Regions from separate parts of the Homo sapiens genome. Here all the other regions are linked to region 1. Evidence: promoter capture Hi-C in 16 types of primary human blood cells and fetal thymus (Javierre and others, 2016). All regions are on one chromosome and are shown on one strand. Each heading gives the region's core, a stretch centred on a gene start or on the middle of the fragment in contact. The rest is flanking DNA. Distances are from core to core; before and after follow the strand shown.

The links. Contacts are between HindIII fragments. The CHiCAGO score rates a contact against its expected background, and 5 or more counts as called.
Region 2: the fragment with the promoter of TRPV6 here is called in contact with the fragment with the promoter of TAS2R39 in region 1 in 8 of 17 cell types (neutrophils, naive CD8 T cells, monocytes and 5 more); the score reaches 11.0 in neutrophils.
Region 3: a fragment that was not itself captured here is called in contact with the fragment with the promoter of TAS2R39 in region 1 in 1 of 17 cell types (neutrophils); the score reaches 5.5 in neutrophils.
Region 4: a fragment that was not itself captured here is called in contact with the fragment with the promoter of TAS2R39 in region 1 in 1 of 17 cell types (M0 macrophages); the score reaches 5.5 in M0 macrophages.
Region 5: a contact is called between a fragment that was not itself captured here and the fragment with the promoter of TAS2R39 in region 1, in 1 of 17 cell types (total B cells). The highest score is 5.2, in total B cells.

Annotation. Positions count from the first base shown.
Region 1 is chr7:143,180,833-143,185,539 of GRCh38, forward strand. TAS2R39 (taste 2 receptor member 39) reads left to right here and starts at 2,587. Exons shown (of 1, transcript NM_176881.2): 1 at 2,587-3,603. The coding sequence starts at 2,587. The coding sequence ends at 3,603. The HindIII fragment of the contact is 8,536 bases long and covers 1-4,707 here.
Region 2 is chr7:142,883,374-142,887,591 of GRCh38, forward strand. It overlaps TRPV6 (transient receptor potential cation channel subfamily V member 6), which reads right to left and starts at 2,372. Exons shown (of 15, transcript NM_018646.6): 1 at 2,016-2,372. The coding sequence starts at 2,263. The HindIII fragment of the contact is 18,692 bases long and covers 1-4,218 here.
Region 3 is chr7:143,504,523-143,508,725 of GRCh38, forward strand. EPHA1-AS1 (EPHA1 antisense RNA 1) reads left to right here. Exons shown (of 5, transcript NR_033897.1): 3 at 252-308. Among named protein-coding and RNA genes, the nearest start is that of TAS2R41, 29 kb to the left of the region's middle. RefSeq lists a silencer at 1-392. The HindIII fragment of the contact is 6,452 bases long and covers 1-4,203 here.
Region 4 is chr7:142,902,362-142,906,877 of GRCh38, forward strand. No RefSeq gene overlaps it. Among named protein-coding and RNA genes, the nearest start is that of TRPV6, 19 kb to the left of the region's middle. The HindIII fragment of the contact is 1,572 bases long and covers 1,764-3,335 here.
Region 5 is chr7:142,813,641-142,818,028 of GRCh38, forward strand. It overlaps LOC105375541 (a long non-coding RNA gene), which reads left to right and starts at 557. Exons shown (of 2, transcript XR_001745392.2): 1 at 557-2,485; 2 at 3,116-3,796. The HindIII fragment of the contact is 1,453 bases long and covers 2,120-3,572 here.

The DNA.
Region 1 (4,707 bases), core at 1,337-3,836:
CCTAATATTAGAAATACCCACTCAAATACATCCAAGATGTATTTAGGAAACTGAAGGTGCCATTTAGGAACTGGTCCAACAGTGTTACTTTAAGAAGATCAAGAAAATGTGGCACATATACACCATGGAATACTATGCAGCCATAAAAAAGGATGAGTTCATGTCCTTTGTAGGGACATGGATGAAGTTGGAAACCATCATTCTCAGCAAACTATCGCAAGAACAAAAAACCAAACACCGCATTTTCTCACTCATAGGCGGGAATTCAACAATGAGAAGACTTAGACACAGGAAGGGGAACATCACACACCGGGGCCTGTTGTGGGGTGTGGGGAGGGGGCAGGGAAAGCATTAGGAGATACACCTAATGTAAATGACGAGTTAATGGGTCCAGCAAACCACATGGCACATGTATACATATGTAACAAACCTGCACGTTGTGCACATGTACCCTAGAACTTAAAGTATAATAAATAAAAAAAAGAAAAAGAAAAGATCATCTTTTCACCCAGAAAGGTTATTTCATCCCCCCTCAGATCGCCCCTGGAAATTTCCATGAACAAAACTCTTTCCATTGCAGGAAGCACCTCTTTCATAAGCTGTGGCAAGCAGAGCATCTTCTGAAATGCCTTTGGTGATGTCTGTGGTCCCAGCTCCTGCCCACAGCCTCTGCAGCACCCTACACTGTGAAGCCAGACCCTGTCTGAGCTCTTTCTCATCTGGCTGCTCTGTCTCTGCTTCCCCTTCCTTTGTTCCCCTCTGTCACCCACCAGTGTTTCTTACACAGATGTTCTCTACAGTCTGCTGTGTTCTCACTGAACCTCACTGTTTATGCTCTGACACTTGATTTAGGCATAGGACCTGCAGATTTTCAAATTTGAGGAGACGTGGAACTGCCATTCCTCCTCATGTCTCTCATAAAGAGCTTCTCTGAGCTGAAGGTCTTCACTAAGGCCATATATCAACCCAGCAAGTATCTATGTACTGCCTCCTGGGTGTCTGGCATGGGCTAGGGGCTCAGAGTGGGATACATGGATAAACAAATCAAATGAGGAAAGACGCAACAGCCTCTGAAGGGACCATGTCCTGTTTCTCCTCCCACTCTTGGAAGCCTGGATCAGCAGAAGTAGGGGAAAGCCAGTGGCAAGAAAAATCCTCTTTAAAACCAAACTGGAGGTCCTGAGATACTCCAGGCCTACTTGTGCAAATGGGTAGAAACAAGCAGAGAGGAGCAGTTGTCTATTACGCTGTATTCAAGGGAAATATTTGTTCAGGAATAGTGATTTTCAAATGAGATGGTAAAATTCGTAACAACTCATCTAAAATCATTAATCAAGCCAGAAAACGTTTATGAGTTCTTGCCTTGTTTTTAAAAGGCTTTAAGTAAAAACCAAATGTTATAAAGATTTTCTGAGACTTCTCACCCACCAACTTTCTCTTTATTAGAATTATTACTTCATCATTATTTTAAAGTTACATACATTCATAAAAATTAATTTACCCTGAAATGAAAAGTCCATTTTATCATTATGTGTCCTATGCTTGCGTTTTAAAATCAGAAAAAAATTCCTTAAGATAAAAGTGATTCTTTTTTCCTTTCTTTTTGTTTTAATATTCCAAAATTGGATGAATTGGGACATTGCTTTTATTCTCAGGTTCGCTAGCTTACCTTGCTAGGAACTAGGGAGTTTTACCTTCAACTCTTATTTTCCTAGTTTTGCTTAAAATGAAAGGTGAATATGTGTGTGTGTGTGTGTGTGTGTATGATCTTTTATGTATAATTAAATTTATTACCTCTCAAGTAATCTACTTTGAAAAGAGAGTCCTATCTCTTAAAAATCAGTGTCTTCTTGCTTTATTGATTTTTCTTTAGAGGGTGGGGACATAAAAGGCTACCAGGAAAAAAATGTCATAGTGGAATCAACCCTGCATTTAGTCTTGGGCACACAAAAGAATCCACAGGTCTAGGTAGCATAACATGGTGGATAAGAGGAGGAACTCTGCGACCAGGTGACTTGGGTTTGAATCCCAGTTCTATCACGCTCTAGTTGTGTGATGTTGGCCAAGTTATTTAACCTCTGTATGCCTTAGTTTCTTCATCTGCAAAATGGAGGTAATAGAAGCACATGCTCATAAGGTTGTTGTGAGGTTTAAATGTAGTAATTATAAATAAATCATTTGAAAATTTCTTAGCACAAAATGAGAAGTGCGTGTGTGTGTGTGTATGTGTGTAGCAGTTTTTATTTTCAATCATTTTCTGCAGTCACAAGTGAAAGTAAGTTAAATGATGACTCAGTTAACCAATGTTCAAATTAACTGATGCTACCAAAGAACACGGACCTCAGTACCATGTTAGCTGCTTTTAAAGAGTCTACTCAAGCGCTTCCCTGGGCCTCATTATTGAACCACTACCAACATGTTCAAAAATAGAGAGAGGATTAGAAACCAAATCCTTCCAACATTTGCATCTCTAGATGTAGAGCTAAGAATTCTGAAATAAACAAATGCAGTGAATTTGGAAATGATACATCAATTGCTTCCTCCTATGACATCAATACTGGGAGTTATCAAGAGTCTGCCCATCAAATGCTAGGGAGATGTTTTCCTCCAGACACCAAAGAGAAGCAACAGCTCAGAATGACTAAACTCTGCGATCCTGCAGAAAGTGAATTGTCGCCATTTCTCATCACCTTAATTTTAGCAGTTTTACTTGCTGAATACCTCATTGGTATCATTGCAAATGGTTTCATCATGGCTATACATGCAGCTGAATGGGTTCAAAATAAGGCAGTTTCCACAAGTGGCAGGATCCTGGTTTTCCTGAGTGTATCCAGAATAGCTCTCCAAAGCCTCATGATGTTAGAAATTACCATCAGCTCAACCTCCCTAAGTTTTTATTCTGAAGACGCTGTATATTATGCATTCAAAATAAGTTTTATATTCTTAAATTTTTGTAGCCTGTGGTTTGCTGCCTGGCTCAGTTTCTTCTACTTTGTGAAGATTGCCAATTTCTCCTACCCCCTTTTCCTCAAACTGAGGTGGAGAATTACTGGATTGATACCCTGGCTTCTGTGGCTGTCCGTGTTTATTTCCTTCAGTCACAGCATGTTCTGCATCAACATCTGCACTGTGTATTGTAACAATTCTTTCCCTATCCACTCCTCCAACTCCACTAAGAAAACATACTTGTCTGAGATCAATGTGGTCGGTCTGGCTTTTTTCTTTAACCTGGGGATTGTGACTCCTCTGATCATGTTCATCCTGACAGCCACCCTGCTGATCCTCTCTCTCAAGAGACACACCCTACACATGGGAAGCAATGCCACAGGGTCCAACGACCCCAGCATGGAGGCTCACATGGGGGCCATCAAAGCTATCAGCTACTTTCTCATTCTCTACATTTTCAATGCAGTTGCTCTGTTTATCTACCTGTCCAACATGTTTGACATCAACAGTCTGTGGAATAATTTGTGCCAGATCATCATGGCTGCCTACCCTGCCAGCCACTCAATTCTACTGATTCAAGATAACCCTGGGCTGAGAAGAGCCTGGAAGCGGCTTCAGCTTCGACTTCATCTTTACCCAAAAGAGTGGACTCTGTGACCAGCACCCAAGAAGACCACAGGACCTGGCCTTACCAGCTCTGCCATTCCCTCACCTAGACCTCTCTTTTCTCTCTTCTTTTCTTCTCCAACCCTCATCTGACCCTTTTCGCCTGATGTGGCTTTTTATATAGGAAATTGATCATTTCTTTTTTGCTTCATGGGTACAATCTTAGTGGTACTGTCATATTCTTTACCTGAGCCCTCTACCTCCCCTTGCTCTGTTTAAAGCAGTGATTCTAAGCACTGGCTACCCATTAGAATCTCTAGGTTGATTTTTGAAAATACCAATGTTCAAACCCAATCTCAGATCTATTAAGTCAGAATTTCTAGTGTTAGAACTCACACAATTTTCTAAGATCTCCAGGTGATTCTGCTGTGCAGCAGGGTTGTATAGCCACCAAAATAGAAGAATGTTCTGAAACTAGTTCCTGACAACTCTCTTTCTCCCTCCACATGCCTTTTAAACACATTTAGATAACTTGGGAAGTTTTCTGAGCAGAAGTTTGAAATGCATTTTGTCTCCATCTTTCAAAGATATAACCAAAATAATGTGGAACTATTTATCAAAATTAATAATGCATAAAACACCTTTCATCCTAAAAATTACTAAGAATTTTTTCTAAGCATGGTTTTGTATAAATAAGCAAAAATATGTGCAAGAGGCTCTTCACAGCTGCACTGTTCATGAATGACGGGAATTGAATGTCTGAAATGAATATTATGTTAACCTTTTTTAAATGAGATAGATGCATGCTTCCTGAGATGAAAAGATTTCCAATACACAGTGCAAAAAGCAAGGAGATATTTTATGATTCCATCTGTATTTCTTTTTTTCATAATACTTATATATTTGTATGTATATATATGTACATGCAAAGTTTCTGGACAAATATACCAAAAATAATTCACAGAGGGCTTCTGAGTGGTGTCACTGGGTATCTGGGGAATAAATGAAATATTTACCGTTTATTTTATGCCTTTATGCATTGTTTGAATTACTTAGAACATGTATTCACTAATTTTAAAATTTTAAAAGATTTATATTGATTTTTATTAGAAAGAGAATTGGTAAGTAAAAAAGATTTGAGAGAAAGGATAGTGC
Region 2 (4,218 bases), core at 1,122-3,621, 300 kb before region 1:
GACCATCCTGTACCGCATGGAATCCCACGCAATCCCACCCCACAGTTCTCCCTGTGAGTCCCCTTTGGAACAAATTCAACTTCACCATTTACTTGCTCTAGGGTTCTGGGCCTGCCCCATTCATAGGGGGATAACAGGACCCACCTTCCATTATTGTTACCGGGATGACGGAGATAAGGCAGGTGGTAGTACCTAGTACAGCACTGGGTTCTCAATCATTGTGTGCTCCTTTCTTCCATTAGCTCACCCCTCACTTGTCCATATTGTTCCTATTTACTTAGTCATCCCATGTTTATCTCAATGCCCCCATGCCTTCTCTTTGGTTGACGGCACAGATTAGGAAACTCCCCTTGCAGGCAATTTCAGCATCCTTCTGGGAAGTGCCCACCCAAAGAAGAGTCATTGCTCTGGACACCTGATATCCAGCAAGAAGAAGGCCAAGAAAGTGCGGAGGCCAGTAAGGAGATCAGGGCAGGGAGGGGGGATCCCTCCCAAGGGTGACATCAAGCCTTTCTAGCCAAAGTCTGCAGAGGCAGCCCCCATATGATCTGAGGAAAAGTGAGGGCAGACAGGACATGCGGAAGCAGCCTATTCTCAGCCACTCAGCGCAGGGCCTCCCCTCTGCTCTCCCCTGATATCGCACACAGGGAATCTCCACCACCCCTTCCAATCCCCCAGGCCTTTTTGCACTCTGTGCCTGGATCCCCTGGCCCTGGGGTCCTAAGAGTGGGAAGAGGATGAGTGAAGCCAGTGAGGACGACCTACTCTCTAACAACAATGCCATTCTGTTGCCCCAAGATGTCATCAGCCAAACATGTGCTCCAGTCCCCACTCTCCCAGGCCTTGGGGGAGAGGTGGGCGGCTGGAGAGATGGGAAGCCATAATTCACAGAAAGAGACCATCCCCAACCCAGAATCCTTCAGCAAAAGAAAACACAGGGGCCTCCAGGCAGCCTCCCCGGTCAGGCTAAAGCAGGCTCCTACTCTTGGGGTCAGAGAAAAACCCTAAGGCACAAAGACTTCAGGCTTTCCTCTATGACCAGACATCTGCCTCCTTCGTGACCCAGGGAAAGCCCCAACAGGCAGGACTTCCTTCTAGCATGCCACCAACTGGGTAGAGAACTCTATTAGAGACCTTGAAGAAGAGACCACATGCAGGGATAGCCCTGAGTTCCGATTCCCTGCTCCTCTCCTGCTCTGTACTCCAAGCTGTCATGGTGAAGAAAGCAGGACACGGGTTTAGGAAGTTTTCAGGGGCTGGAAGCCACCAGTGAATGTCCTTAGGGCTTAAACGCTAGAGTCTCGATTTCCACCACCTGAATGCGGAAGAGCACAGGTCCTCGGAACATCTGTTATTTTGACCCGCTTCCCCTCAGTCCCCACCCGCACTGAGAGAGAAATACACCTCAAGGTTGGGTTTGAGCGTTGTAGGTCTTCATATCCCCCCAGTGCTGGGCAAATAGTAAGGCCTTGGTCAGTGTCTGATGAGACAGATACATAGGAATGGTCACTTTTTTCACATTTTGTCTTATTTTCTGGTTCCTGGTGTCCGCGGTTCTCTCTGCTTCATTCATTCAATCGTTCACTCATTCCTCCATGCGAACATATGTATACTATGTGTTCCTGCCAGAGAGACTGTTCTAGAGGCAAGCAGTGGAGATACAGAAGGCATTGTCCTCACCTGCCGTCCCCTCTTGGGTGGAGGGGCTGTGATGCTCTATCCTTACAAGCCCCAGCAAGACGCCTGGCCCTTAGAGAAGTACTCACAAGAGGCTTGCAGAATCGAATTAGATCTTAAGATAGTGAACACCTGTGCCCATCTCAACCCCATCCTCTTTCACCAGCCCTACAGGCTGAGGCTCTTAAGACAGAATGCTCCCAAGGAGCCAGTCCGGGCCTGGGAGCACCATCTGTCCAGCCAAAGGTGCCAAACAAAGACGGGAGGTGAGGGAGGGGTGAGGGGTAGAGGTGCAGGCCTGGGGAGGTGGGGAAGGGAGCAGACCAAGGGGGCCTTACCTCTTCTGCTGCAGCAGGTTCTGCTCATCTCGGCTCTGGGCCCAGGACTCCCGTCTCTGGAACCATCTGCAGAACTTGCTCCATAGGCAGAGAATTAGCCCTTTCTCCTTGGGCAGTGACAAACCCATGGGGTGTAGGGCCGGCTCCTTGGGGGCCTGAGGCCGAGGCCAGACCCTGACGGGACTCAGCCTTGGGGCCACATCAGCCCCCCCAAGGGCCGGCCCACCGTCTCCCTGTAGAGGTCCCGTCTCCTGTCTCCTGCCTTCCTGACGAGTTCCTTGGGAGTCTCCCAGCAGCCCCAGCCAGTTTGGAGAGGGCTGTGAGTTTGTTACACTTGGCAGAGCCAGCCAGGACTCTGCAGGGCTGGCCTGTCTGGAGCTCCTGCTGGGAGTGAGCAGGAGGAGCCAAAGCTGCACGGACACGCCCTCCCTCCTCCCAAATTACCTGAGATTTAAAGACACAGGCCAGCCACAGACCTGCCTACCAAGGGGGACTTGTGCCAACTCCAATTCTTTCTCCACCCAGGGCTCTCTCCCTGCCCCCAGGCCAGTCACAACCAGGGAGGCCTTCAGAAAGACTGGCGAGGCCTCCCTTGGACGTCAGAACACCCAGTGACCTACCCTGAGAGACTCTAGGCAGTGAGAAAGGAGGGGAGGAGTCAGGGCAGGCCCATTCCCAATGTTGAGGACTCCCAGGAGGGAGCGCCCCACTTTCCCACAGTGCCTCTTCTGCCGACCACCTGCCTCACTCTCTGCCTCCCCCTGCTTATGTCCTGGAGAATTCCATTTTCTGGACTCTTCCAGTTTCATTCTTGCCAGGCCTGAAATAGGTATATAAATTGCGAAGATACTCAGTTCTCCCAGACTTTCCTCTCAGTCCCCATCACCTTTGGGTCAGCAAACTTTTTCTGGAAGGGCTGATAGGAAATGTAAAGATGTTAGGTTTTGCAAGCCATGTACACTCTCTAATGTACGTTATTCTTTGGTTTTGTTTTGGTGGTTGTTTTCTAACCACCCCCAAAGATGTAAAATGCATTCTTCGCTCACCAGCCAGGGCACAAAATCTAGCTCTGGGCAGACCCCCTGCTCAGGAGCTCCACAGACTGTCCACAATGCCCCGTGCATGGGGTGGGTGCCCGATAAAATACAGGACACGTGGTCAAATTTGAATTTTAGATAAACAACAAAGAATTTTTTAGTATAAATATACCCCACGTTTTGCAAGTATTCTATCTGCCAGCCTTCCCGTGGAGGTGACATTCAGCTGCTACTGTGTGCTGGGCCTTTTAACTGAGCGTTCCCAGGTAAACTCGTAACAAACCTGCAAGGCAGGTATTATTATCTACATTGTATTGATGGGAGAAACCAAAGCTCACCATGGTAAAGGAACTCTCCCAAGGCCATAGAGGTGGCAGAGGCAAGATTCACACCCATCCCTCATTCCAAGCCCACTTCTTTCTCCCTAGCACACCTCCTCATTCTAACTGGCCAACAGAGCTTCAGAGAGGTTAAGTGACTCGCACAGTCATACAGAAGAATGATGGCATTAAGCATGGCCCATCGTCTTCCCACAACAAAGAGCTCCATCATGAGCTTGCTGGAAGCTGTCGGAAAGGTCATTTAGTTCAACTTTTCCACTGGAAAGGGGCAGAAGCCCGGGCTTATCCAACCTCCTGGTGCCAGCCAGGTGCCAATAGCCTAGGGGCAGGTGTCTGGGTGTTCAGAGTCACAGGTGTGTGGATCACTTCCTAGCTTCAGAGTCTGTTTTGTCCTAACTTTCTCTGACTCAGAGTTGGAAGACCCAGCCAGGGGAGTGTGTGTGTGGCGTGTGTATGGCGTGTGTGCCCATGTGCATTTGTGTGTGGTGTTTATGCGTGTGTTCATGATGTGCATCGGTGGGGTGTTTTGTGTGTGGTATGCTGTATGTATATGATGTGCCTGTGGTGTGTTTGGTATGTGTCTACGTGTGTATGATATATGTGATATGTGTAGGTATGGCCTGTAGAGCGTGTGGATGTGGTGTCTGTGATGGTATGTGTGACATGTGTGTTGTGTATATACGTATTGTGGAAAGATTGTTGCATGTGTGTTGTGTGTATGGTGTGTAGTGGGTGATGTATATGGTACCTTTAAGGTATGTGTGCGTGTACATGATGTGTGTGTGTGTGTGTGGTGTATACATGATTTGTGTAGTGTATGGTGGG
Region 3 (4,203 bases), core at 689-3,188, 320 kb after region 1:
AGAGAGGTTAGAGGAACTTGTCCAAGGTCACAGTCAGGAACTTCAGGGGTCAGAATCCAGATCCAGGTAGCCTGGCTCAATGCCCCTGTGCTACGGCACTGCCACTTTTCTCTCCGAGGCCCAGCCCTGCCTCTACAGGTGCTGTGCTCCAGCAACGTTCAGGTGAGGCACTTTACTTTTCCCTTTGTGATGTGTGCTTTAATGATAATGAGACAAGATGGATTAAATTCACTTTCATGATTGTTTCCCAGAAGGCAGCAACTGCTTTCGGGAGCAGCTGAAGGCTGGAGATAACATGGACCTCCATGGTGAGTCAGTAAGACCCATCAATCAGGCACAGCCAGGGGAGGAGGCAGACACTGCAGGGAAGATGGCCACCAGGAGCAGCTGAGGGATCCAACTGCTGGATTAAGGGAGATTGTGTGGTTAGGAGGCCTCCCCTCCCATTGTAAGATGAAGGAGGTACATTTGTCCATTGTCAGGAGGATCATAGAAAATCTTAATCTCCACTATGTGGGACTGGTACTTCAGAAGCTCCAGGCAAAGACTTAAGTCATTAATAGGCTTAATATAAAGGCTTAGCTGTTACCTACAACTCAAATATCTTGGAGAAATGTTGCCCCCCAAAGGGCTACACAAATATTACTTCTCTAAGTGAGCCTCAGCTTAGATGTGGGAAATGGTCTTATATGCAGAGAAATTTCATTAAATTTTAATAAGTATTTTTCCACATTTACTTCACCTTTTCTTTTTTCCTTCTGGATAGTGGTGTTCTAGTTCCCTCCCTACAGCCCCCTTTTAACTGTCCACTTGTCCAGTTACCCACCTTCTGTAGGAAGTATTCATTGACTGGGAACTGCAAACTCGGTGATCTAGCCACTTCCCCTCAGTTGAAAGTTGCTATGTCAAGAAAAAGAACCTGTGCAATTAGAATAATTGGAACTTTCCTACCTTAAAGATGTTCATATACCTGGGTTCTAAGCATGGGAGATAGTAGTGGTAAATAATGTATGAGCTCTCTGAGGAGGTAGGTGAAGATGAGATCTGGAACTCAAGGAGGGTTAAATTTAAGCAGAAGCAGGGTAGCCTCTTCCACTGTGAAGGACTGGAGTAATGATTAGAGGGCGGTGACTGTCAACCTTGACTACACCTTAGAATCACCTAAAGGGAGTTGTTGAAAACCCCAATGCCTGACTTACACCAAGACCAAGTGATATAATTAGGCTTTGTGTCCCCACCCAAATCTCATCTTGAATTGTAATCCCCCAAATCCGCATAATCTCTCCAAGGGAGGGACCAGATGGAGATAATTGAACCATGGGGGTGGTTTCCCCCATGCTGTTCTCGTGATAGTGAGTGTGTTCTCCCAAGATCTGATGGTTTTATAAGGGGCTCTTTCCTCTTCTCTTGGCACTTCTTCCTGCCACCTTATGAAGAAGATGCCTGCTGCTTCCCCTTCACCTTCCACCATGATTGCACATTTCCTGAGGCCTCTCCACCCACGCTGGACTGTGAGTCAAATAAACCTCTTTTTTTTTTTTTTTTTTTTTGCAAATTACCCAGTCTTGGGCAGCTCTTTATAGCAGTATGAAAATGGAATAATACACTAAGCAAATCAGAATCTCTGGTGTCAGGCTCAGACTTCAGTAGTTTTAAAGGTCTTTGGGTGATTCCAGTATGCAGCCAAGGAAGGAGCCCACTGATATAGCAGTATAGCAGGGCAGCAGAGGATGAGGCCCGTCTGAGTTTGGATCCTACAGAATTATAGTGGCCCTGTTATAGAGTAATGAGATTTGTCTTCAGAAGTATTGAGCACTCACAGATTTGTATTAGAGATGTCAGAAAATCGGATTGAGGTTTGTAAATTGGGTGTGTAGAACACAGACAATGGAGTTGAGAGTGTTGGCTCAAATAATTAAACATTAGTCTGAGAGATCTTGATTTTGAAAGAAAGTGAAGGAGCTTCATTTAGGTGGCACACAGGTGGAGAGAACATCTGGGCCAAAGGATTGAAGCTGTTGATGAAGGTGACAAGGGATGGTCTCAGAGCAAATAAATGAGAGCTGGGAAGTAAGAGGCTGTGGTGAAGAGAGGATTTGGTGAGGCATTGTTTTCAGACCCATGATGGGATTTGTTATAGAAAGACAGCTCGAATTAATGATGGTCCAGTTGAAGGGTTACAGAAAAAATTTATTCCATGCACACTGTCTTACATATCATTTTGGGACTGTGTGTATTGATTATGTTTTTTATTTTCTATGTTTTATGATGCTTCAACATCTTGGAGGCCTTGTTGGCTGGGAGAGACTGCTCCTGTCAGTGCTAACTAGTTCCTAGGTATGCAAACATCTTTAAGAAGGGAAAGTTCCCATTGTTTTAACTGCATAGATTCTGTCCCTATGAAGTGGCAACTTTCAGCTGAAGGGAAGTGGCTAGATCACCAAGAGTTTGCAGTTCCTGGTAAATGAATACTTTCCCAGGCTTTGGGATAACTGGACAAGTGGGAATTTAGAAGAAGGGGCAAATGTGTCCCCTGTGAGAATGTCATTAAGATGCAAACCAACCAATCCAGAGCTCATATACTCAGTCACCTCCTTTATCTAACTCTCACATGCCAAGTCAACATTTTCCCCACCCTAATCACCCCAGGGTGAGGTCTTGGACTACTAGATACCACGCATGTCATCCAGAGCCTGCTGAAATTATTCAAACTATCCTATCTTAGACTTCCTTAAGTTTTCTACTCCACTCACTCATTTCTTCCCATAGAAACCACAATCAAGTCTCTCGGGCATGGTCTTCCCTTTCTTTTTCTGTCTCCTGACAGAAAGAGACAGTATGCCTCTCCACGTGGCCCTGCATGACACAGCTTGCCTCCCCCTCTTAGGAACTGTGAGTAATAAACTGTTCTTTCAAAGGCAGCTGTTTCTGTGTCTGTCACTTTACCCTACCTGATTAAAACAAATCTGGGTACAAATCTTGAAACAGTGTTAAATATTTCAGCATTTAAAATGAAAGACAATGTTATTTCCCATTCCAGCAGTTGATTACACAGATTTGAATGGCTTCTCTGTGTTCTTTTAACCCTGGATGGAGTGTGGCAGTCATTATATGATCTCTGGCTAGACAGCATTTCTGTATGTGTGTTTTGTTGTTTGGTCAGTAGACCTTTGCACATGCACCGCTGAGGTTTGTACAGGTGAATTCAGTACTTTCTGGGTTGGAGTAGGCATCTTAAAAGCCATCTTTGGCTCCAGTCATACTATTCTAGAAATCGCAGTATCATTTTGGCACTGTTGATTACTCCATCCTTGAAATTCCCTTTCTTGGTTTCCATGACACCACAATATGTTTGATTTTCTTCTACTTCTCTGATTGCTCTTTTAAAAAAAACTCCGTTGGGTATTCCCCTTCCTCTGCCTATCCTGTATTTTTATTTGAAAAGCATTTATTGAATAACTGACACATACATGTATGTAAGGAAGGTATTCGATGAAAAACGTAGGTTTATCCCACCTCTATTCCCCAGTCTCCAAACTTTTACTTTGGCAGAAATATGTGTGTCTTTATCTGCGTGTATACATGCACACGTAGAGAACACATAGGAAATATACAGACACATACATGCACATACAATTATATAAGTGTGTGTATATATATATATGTGTATATATGTGTGTGTATATATATGTGTATATATATGTGTGTGTATGTATGTGTGTATATATATATATATATATTTGTTTGAGATGGAGTTTCGCTCTTGTTGCCCAGGCTGGAGTGCAACGGTGCAATCTCTGCTCACCGCAACCTCCACCTCCTGGGTTCAAGCGATTATCGTGCCTCAGCCTCCCAAGTAGCTAGGATTACAGGCATGTGTCACCACACCTGACTAATTTTGTATTTTTAGTAGAGATGGGGTTTCTCCATGTTGGTGAGGCTGGTCTTGAACTCCCGACCTCAGGTGATTGGCCTGCCGTGGCCTCCCAAAGTGCTGGGATTACAGGCATGAGCCACTGCACCCAGCTACAATTAAATATTTTTGCTCATAAATGCTAGCATACCATAAACCTTGATTTATTTACTCATTCATTCAACAATTTTTTAAGACTCTATTCCATGCCAGACACTGATAGGAACTGGGAATACCATGGTGAGTGAAGCAGATGGCCTTTCACAGAGTTTATGTTGGAAGGAATGGGC
Region 4 (4,516 bases), core at 1,300-3,799, 280 kb before region 1:
GTCTCGATCAATTTACAGGTTTATTTTGCAAGGTTGAGGACACAGGAAAAAGAGACACAGGCCACAGTAAGATCTGAGGCCTGCACTTTTTCCAAAGTGGGTTTTGAAGGCTTCAATATTTAAAGGGGTTAAGTGGCCAGGAGGGGAAGGAGAAAAGTTAAAGAAAAGTGGCGGAGAGTAGACAAGTGGTTACATTCTTTTGAGGCTTTGATTAGTGCTCACTGAATCCACATGTTGCATGTGAGAAGCAGGGGACAGAGGAACAGTCATTTATGTATTTGTGTCATGCTCAGTAAATCTGCACTTTACATAAGACAAAGTAAATTAGAGGAAGAAGTCAAATATGCCTTCATCCCAGGGTAGGAGGAGGGACGATTTCTATTCTTCTCTTCTCCTGTACCCGTGAAGATAAACTGTTAATTTATAATGTCAGGGTGAAGGAGGCCATCTGGGGAGCTAATGTGGCCTTCTGTCTTGAGGCTATCTGTTTAGGAACAAAAAGACAGGCAGTTTCCAAACTTTTTGGAAGAAAGGCAACTTCCAAAAGTTTGACTCAGTTTCCAAACTTAACTTTTCCCTTTCACATAGTGAGTTTGAGGTCCCAAGATGTTATTTTCCTTTCACATCCTCCCACCCTGTTCTTCCAAATCTTTCAGGGAAAGCATTGTAGAAGAAAGTGAGTGTCTGATCTCAGGTTTGGTCTGATCCCTTGTCACTAGGACAGTTTATTTCTAGAGGGTTAGGTCCCTCATTTTAGAAAGGATCATTCTTAGCAGGTTGTGAAGTTTCATGTTCCACAGAGAAAAATAGGGGAAAGAAGAGAGAAAGAAAACCAGTAGAAAAGGAGGAAAGATCATGACAACAAAAGGGGAAAGTAATCCTGGAAAACTGATTTAGGCTATATTGCTCTGAAGTCCATGAATGAGTAGGCAGGCACAAAAGTGGTTTATATATATAAATAATTTGCTGTTACTTTTCCCAAAGTTTAAGTTTCAAGTTTCACTTGGCAGAACTTTAAGAAAAGCACAGTTTTAATTTTAATTTAATTTTAAATTAAAATTTCTAGTTTTAATTTCTAGATTCCAAATGAGAAAAAAAAGGGAAAAAATGAAAGAAAAAGGAAAAAAAAAATGAACAGTAGTTTGGAGACTTGTAGCCAGGAAAGGACTTAGGATTCAGTCCAAATGCATTTTAACAAAGAATGAAACTGAGAAACAATTGATAAGGTGGGGTCTAAGAAGAGGTGTTTTATATGTTTTTTTAAAAAAAAAAAAAAACATAATTTTTATCTCAGTCCTCCATTTTTATCAAAGACAAATCATAGTAGGACTAATTTATTTGTAGAAAAGCTTTAGTTGTATTATACTTCACCTGATTCTTTGTATAAAGTGCAGCAAGAATAATTATTTTCTATTTAGGCTTTTTTAAAATTGACTTTGCTGGAAACTTTTTTATTTAAGGAATCTTAGTTTAGACTTTTTAAAGGCCCCAAGCCCAGTCAAGAATTTATTTGTGCCTGCAGATATCTGTATGAACTGGGCGAATGCCTCTCTTCTTAATCCCAAGATAACTTGGGGTTCCCGGGCCTGCCAGAAAGTAACGTTCTTTACTTATCACAGGTTGGGAACCCTGTAAAAGAATTGTGTAGGCAAGGTACAAGGCCAGTTTTTTTAAGGATCTTTTATTGGCTCTATAAGTCAATGGCAATTCCTTAAAACAGTTTGTTGTTTTGTTTATAGCTTAAAATATTTCATTCTAGTCAAAGCTTTAGTAAAATAATAGTCTCCAATTGTGTCCTGTTACAAAAGAAAGCAGATTCTTATTGAGCTCATACAAATAACTATATTGTTATAAATTAAGAATACTCAAAAATAGTTTTCAAATTCTGGAGAAATCAGGTAGAGAGAAAGAAATATGCTTTAAATTTTGCTCACAAGAGCATATTTTACTCAATTGTTAAAAGCTGTAAACAACCCAAAAAATGAAAAGAATCACCAATGTTTCAGACAAAAAGATCACACAAAAAATTATTTTAGTCTTCTATTAGCTCAGTTCATGCAATTAACCTCTGTTCTATTTGATATTGGGTCAACAATCCTCATGAATACATCAGATCTCCAGGAGTGTCCTGGAAGATTTTTTTCCTCTATTTTAATGGCACAATCTCCAAAGCTGTCAGAAACCTGCATTTAAAAGTATCCATCTGATACAGTTTGGCTTTGTGTCCCCACCCAAATCTCATCTTGAATTGTAATCCCATAATCCCCACATGTGGTGGGAGGGACCCAGTGAAAGGTAATTGAATCATGGGGGGCAGTTCCCCCCATGTTGTTCTCATGCTAGTGAGTTCTAATGAGAACTCACTCATTCAGTGAGTTGCCCACTGTACTCTAGCATGGGCAACAGATGGTTTTATATGGGGCTACCCACTTTGCTTGGCACTTATTCTCTCTCCTGGCACCCTGTGAAGAGGTGATTCTCCAGTGATTCTAAGTTTCCTGAGGCTTCCCCAGTCATGCAGAACTGTGAATCAATTAAACTTTTCTTTATAATTTACCCAGTCTCAAGTATCTCTTCATAGCAGCATGGGAATGAACTAATACACCATCAGAGTCCTATAACTGATTATAAGCAACTTTTTGAAAAGGAACAAAGTAAAATAATAATTGTGAATGACAAAAGATATCCACAGTCAAAGATATAATTGACAAGGAAATCTGGTTATTTCTGTGGCACACAATAATTTACCATAATTATAATTATTACTGATCACATATACCAAGACATATTAAAATTATAAGAATATTATACAATTTTGGAACACATAACAATAGCACATTTATATAAATATATTTCAAAGAAAGTTACACACCATTTTATACTTGGCAATGCCTCCTGTATGATTTTAACATATCAAATAAGCCAAATATGCCTCTGTTGGACATTTAAAAGTCAGTTTGAGGTTAAAAGACTGCATTTAGAATTTAATCTTGGAAAGTTAGTCCAACATTAAAAGTTTAAAGCACTTGATATCGCAAAATGAGATTACAGGTCATTATAATCATTTAGCTAAAGTGATAACTCACCAATTTTAAAAAAAAGCAGAAATCTTTACTCCTTGATAAAGAAGACCTCAGTTTTCTAAAAAATAGGACCTAATAGAGACAGTGTGAAGCCAACTGAATCTGTCTCTCCTCTCCTTCTTCTTTAATTTTTTTGGCAGTTTATTCAAAGGGCAAATGAAAATCTTTTACTATCTCTTAATATTATACAAAAATCTTATTTAAAAGAGAAAACCAAATTTTATTTTTGTATTACTGTATTGTTAATTCTAAAGCTTTAATAGAATCTTATAAGCAAATCTACCAAATTTTAATTAGTTTGATTGTAAGGTAAGATTTCCATGAGGCTTTTATAAACTTTACAAATTTGTGTTAAAGAACACATCAATATTCCAAGAAAATCCTGCCTCACACAGGTGCTCAGATTCTGACCCTGCATCAATGTGCTATTTATATGAATGTTCAATTTGTATAATATCTAAATAATCCCCTTAAAATTTTAGCCAAACTTGATCACACACAAAATTCCTTTTACAAGATCAATCTTCCACAAACCTTCTACGACTTGCTTAAACCTTCAGTTTTGTCGTTTCTGTTAACTTGAAACAGTCCTTAAAATCCTCTAAACTAGAAAAAAACACTTTCTCTTAAAAAAGAACCACACTCCCATGACTTATTTTAACATTTGTTCTCCAAAAAAAAACACAGCCTACCTGTTTAATACACATTGTATGTACCTAGTAGTTTTAATTACATTCATTAATTTATAATGTTAACTCTTAGTAATTCTTATTTTAGTGAAAAACCTAGGCAGTAAGCAATTTTAATTACATACCAGGTGCACAAGCCAGGACAAAGGACAATACCTGGGGGCAGGCCAAGGGCTCAAATCAAAAGACATATAAGTTTATAGACAAGTTAAGCAAGTATTAAAAAGATTACAGGGCTAGTGCAGTGGCTCATGCTGTAATCCCAGCACTGTGGGAGGTCGAGGCAGGTGGATTGCTTGAGACCAGGAGTTCAAGACTAGCCATGGGCAACATGGCAAAACCCCATCTCTAAAAAAAATACAAAAATTAGCTGGGTGTGGTGGTGCACACCTGTAGTGCCACCTACTTGGGAGGCTGATGGGGGAAGATTACTTGAGCCCAGGAGGTCGAAGCTGCAGTAAGCAGTGATCACACCACTGTACTTCAGCATGGGCAACAGAGCAAGACCCTGTCTCAAGAAAAAAAAAAAAGGACTACAGAAGCAGAATTTTAAAGTGCTTCTACTATGAAGAGAATAAAGAAGAATGATGGTGACTGAGCAGTTTTACATACCCTGCCACCACTGTGTCCCAGTGTGTGCGGGCGTGTGTATACACATTGTGCAATCCCTCACTGCTGGGCACTCAGCCCTGGGCTGGTGTATCTGAATTAACTGTCTGTGGTTTCACAAATACCACTTACTTC
Region 5 (4,388 bases), core at 1,596-4,095, 370 kb before region 1:
TGATAGAAGGATGAAAAAAGATTTTAGTTTATCTGAAATTGGAAACTAGAGCTAGACATGTTACCTGGGAGATGAAAGGATAGGGCTCAAGAGATTCAGGTATTTTGGGGTAATCAAAGCAGAAATGCTCAGTTCTGAGGGCAGGAAGCTTCTATGACAGCCAAAGGGATCGCCTGCATAATCTTCATCCCTGGCAGACAGATTTTGAGACCTGGACAGGCATAATTAACTCCTGAACTGATCAAAGTTGGAATCTGCTCCATGTGTCTCTAATGGGCCAACTAGATCTAATTTATCCTCTAAATGCAATATGAGTAATAGGAAACATCACAGAGACTTGGAATCATATGGATTTGGGTTCATTTCACAGCTCTGCTTCTTGCTGGCTTGGGAACTCTCAAGCAAACCCTGATTCTCAATTTTCTTATCTATAAAGTGAAAATAATGATGACAATATCTAAAAATTGTTGAAAGATGCATTTTGCCTGGTGCACTGCAGGCAGGCACTCTTACATATGTTGGCTTTTTTTTTTTTTTTTTTTTTTTTTTTTTTTTGACTCCCTATGTCTGCAGCAAAGATTGGGAGATTTACAATGGCATGGGGTGGAAGGTAGGGGCTGAAGGGATCACGAGCCACAAAAAACACAGTCAAGCCACGAATTCATAATAGTAAGGATTCATAATAGCTAAGCATGGGACTCTGCTAGGTAGCTGCTAAAATGTCATTCTGCTGAAATGGGACAAAAGACCTTCAGATGCCTGGAGGACACCAGCACACCCTTGGAAACTCCTCTTCCCTCTGTCTTTGCCATGCTCTGTATTCTGAAGGATTCATATTCAGAACAATTACTTAGTTTGGGTTGGATGTGGTGGAGCGGTTTGAGATGAAAACCCAGGAAAGAAAGCCGTAAAAGTGGCTGAACAGGGAGAATAAGCTTTAAGCAAATAAAGCATTTGTAACACTTTCCCATTTCATCAGGGCCTAGTGATGTCATATGTTTGTTGTTGTTGCTGATGCTACAGTAACACAATTCCAAGTTAATGTTGGGGTTCTTGCTTCTGACAGTTTTGGCTGTAGCACATTTTTTTGTTTGCATTTGAATACACCATATGTATAGGGGAATGTTTTGTTTTTTATCATTTCAAAATGGAATTAATCCTCTTATAACATTTATTTAAATGATAAATCAAGTGGTAAATATAGTTTGCTTGCAGTGAACATTTGGAACATATGATGAAAAATAGCTATAGCCAACGCAAGAGCAGTTTTCATTGAACAGTTGTTCAATCTCAGTTTTTAATAAATCTGATAATATAATATCTGTGCATGTTAGGATTGCAGAGAGTGAAGCCAAAATAAATATGTGCACACATAGCCTATTCCTCCCTTTCTTTCCATTTCTGTTCTCTTTCCTCTTTGCTTTTGAAATTTTTATTTAGTCCTGAGTGGGGATGGGGTGGAGAGAAAGTGGACAGTGGGTGGTGGGAGATACAGGGAGAAAGAATGAGAATTGCTCTTGTTCTCAAGGGTACCGCATCACGTTTTCCTCTGGCTGGCAGTCTTTAACACCAGCGTATCCTATGAGACCTGACTTCACTCATCAGCTGCATCAGCTCAGTGTCATTACCACATGTAGACAGCAATGTAATCCTCCTTCTTAGAGATGCTGCAGCAGATTGGAGGGTGAAGAGATGTATCAGTCAGATCAGAGTAACCAGCTGGCTCCTGGCTCCTGATCATTGTCACAGCTCAGTAGCTGGAAGCTCCTTCCATATGGCTGATGCCTTTAAAAAAATCTCCTCAATCTCCATCCCCATCTGCAATACTGTTTAGTTATTCAATCATTTAAGTCATTCATGTATTGAAAAGAGGATGGGGATATGATCCCTCTGCTCTGTGGCAGTAGATCTACTAATGGGAGAGTCCTGGCCGCACATCTGGCCTGGGTCTGGAGGTGCCCTACGGAATTGAAAGCTGGCTGGAACTGTCATCTTAACATGTCCTGGTCATCTTAACGTGTCCACCTCTCTGGCAAGCCTCTTTTCAAGTCTTTTTGTTACCATCTTCAGCTTTTTCCCTCCATACTAGATTCTTAATGAATTGCTGCCAACAAGAGAAAGCTTTATACATGAAGAGAATGGCAATAAGAACTAACTCGTCTTTTTAATTTTAAAACTGGTATATATTCCTATATAATAGGAATGGAAGATACTTGCAAAGCCTATTTGTTCCTCTACAGAAGAGTTAAAAATTACCTGGGCTAATGGAAAGAAGGGAGAGTCAGCCAATTAGATGCTCCTGAATGCCCTGAATTGTGACTTACCTCTTCTTATCCACATCCTGATCAAGGAAAGGGATGAGAGAGAGGTGGAGAGAGAAGAAATGGAAATTCAAAAGTTTTGACGGCAGAGGAAAATTGTGCTTATTTCCAGAATGAGACGAACAAGGTCCTGGGTCCCTACATGTCATACTGGCTAGAGACTGGTAAGTAGAAATGACTTGTGGTCAGCAGAATAATGGCTCCCAAGGATGTCCACATTCTAATCCCCAGAATCTGTGCATGTGTTAGATTACATGGCAAAGGGGAATTAAGGTTGAAGATGGAATTAAGGTTTCTAATTGGATGCCCTTAGAACAGGGAGAGTAGTCAGAATTAATCAGGTGTGCCCCATACAATCACAAGCATCTTCAACATGGAAGAAGGAAGCAGAAGAGAGTCAAAGAAAGAGATGTGGACATGGAAGCAGGCAAGAGAGATGCCATGCTGCTGGCCCTGGAGGTAGAAGGGGGCATGAGCTAAGGAATGAAGGTGGCCTCTAGAAGCTAGGAAAGGTAAGGAAATGGGTTCTCTTCTAGAGCCCTCAGGGAAGAATGCAGCCTAGCTGACAGCTTGATTTTAACTCGGTGAAACCTGTGTCAGACTTCAGAGTTACAGAACTGTAAGATAATAAGTTTGTGTTGTTTTAAGCCACTAAGTCTGTAGTAATTTATTAGAGCAGCAGTGGAAAACATACATGGCTCTAGAATGTGTCTTAACAGAGGGACCTGAGGTAGTCTCCAAGAATCCCCAAAGATCTCAGGATAGATCAGGAATAGCCATTTTCTCATTCACAGGGAAACAGATTAACTGAGAGAAGCCATCAAGCCTGAAGAGACATCGTGTTTGAAATGTGTAAGGCACAGTGTACCCGCCGTGGATCAAAACAACCTGAAGGACAGACAGACAGACACACCGAGGATCAGCAGATATCAGTGGGGACAGGTGCTGATGATGGTGCAAATGAGAGTCATGAAGGAAAGTTAAATGATGACCAAAGACCAAGTACCTTCCCCACAATGCTTTGACAAGCGCTTTTATAAGCACCCTGGAATTTAGACACTACCCGGGGAGAAAAGGAAAGGGAGACAAGCATGAATTGTCTGAGAAACCCCTGAATTAATCATGTGTACCCCAATGCAACAAGGATCTAGATATAGAATAATTTTAATTATAGAAAACAAAATTATATTTTACCCACCCATATTTGATGCCCATGAATTTCACATCTACCTTACGTGCACATAAAATTCAAGCTTAGATAGACGGAAAACAAAAAATCAAGAAGCAATATTTGCCTTCTAATAACTTATCTATTGGAGGAGGTAAAAGATAGAAAAGTAGTTCAGATGACAAATACTAAAAGAGTTAGGAACTTCTGCTTCCACTTACGATGAAGGAACTTGTACTCAATCCATCCACTTTGTAATTCTCCTTGAGCTGCTGTAATAAAGTACCACAAACTGGGTGACTTAAAACAACAGAATTTATTGTCTCATGGTTCTGGAGCCTAGAAGTCTAAAATCAAGGTATCAACAGAGCTATGCTTCCTCTGAAACCTGGAAGGAAATTCTTCCTTGCCTATTCCTAGCTTCTGTTGATTTGCTGGCAAATTTTGACATTCCTTAACTTGCAGCTACATAACTTTAAACTCTGCCTTTGGCATTACATGGCATTTTCCCTGTGTGTTTCTGTCTTCCCACGGCTGTCTTCTTACAAGTACATCAGTCATATTAGGAGTCCACAGTGCTCCAGTATGACCTCATCTTAACTAGTCACACTTGCAATGACCCTATTTTCAAACAGAGTCACATTCTGAGGTACTGAGGGTTGGGATGTCAACATATCTTTTTCTGGGGGGATGGTGGGTATAATTCAATCCATTATACCCTCCAATAATAAACACCTAGAAAACTGGGCAATATACGTGAGATAATTGTTTTCTAATATTGGACAAGAGATGGCACAAAACTGTGATCCATAAGTGAAAGGAGACAAATGAGGTGCGTGCTGTGATCATTTCCGTTTTCTACCCAGAATTTCCTGGGTTACTGTACAAACAAGAGGGAC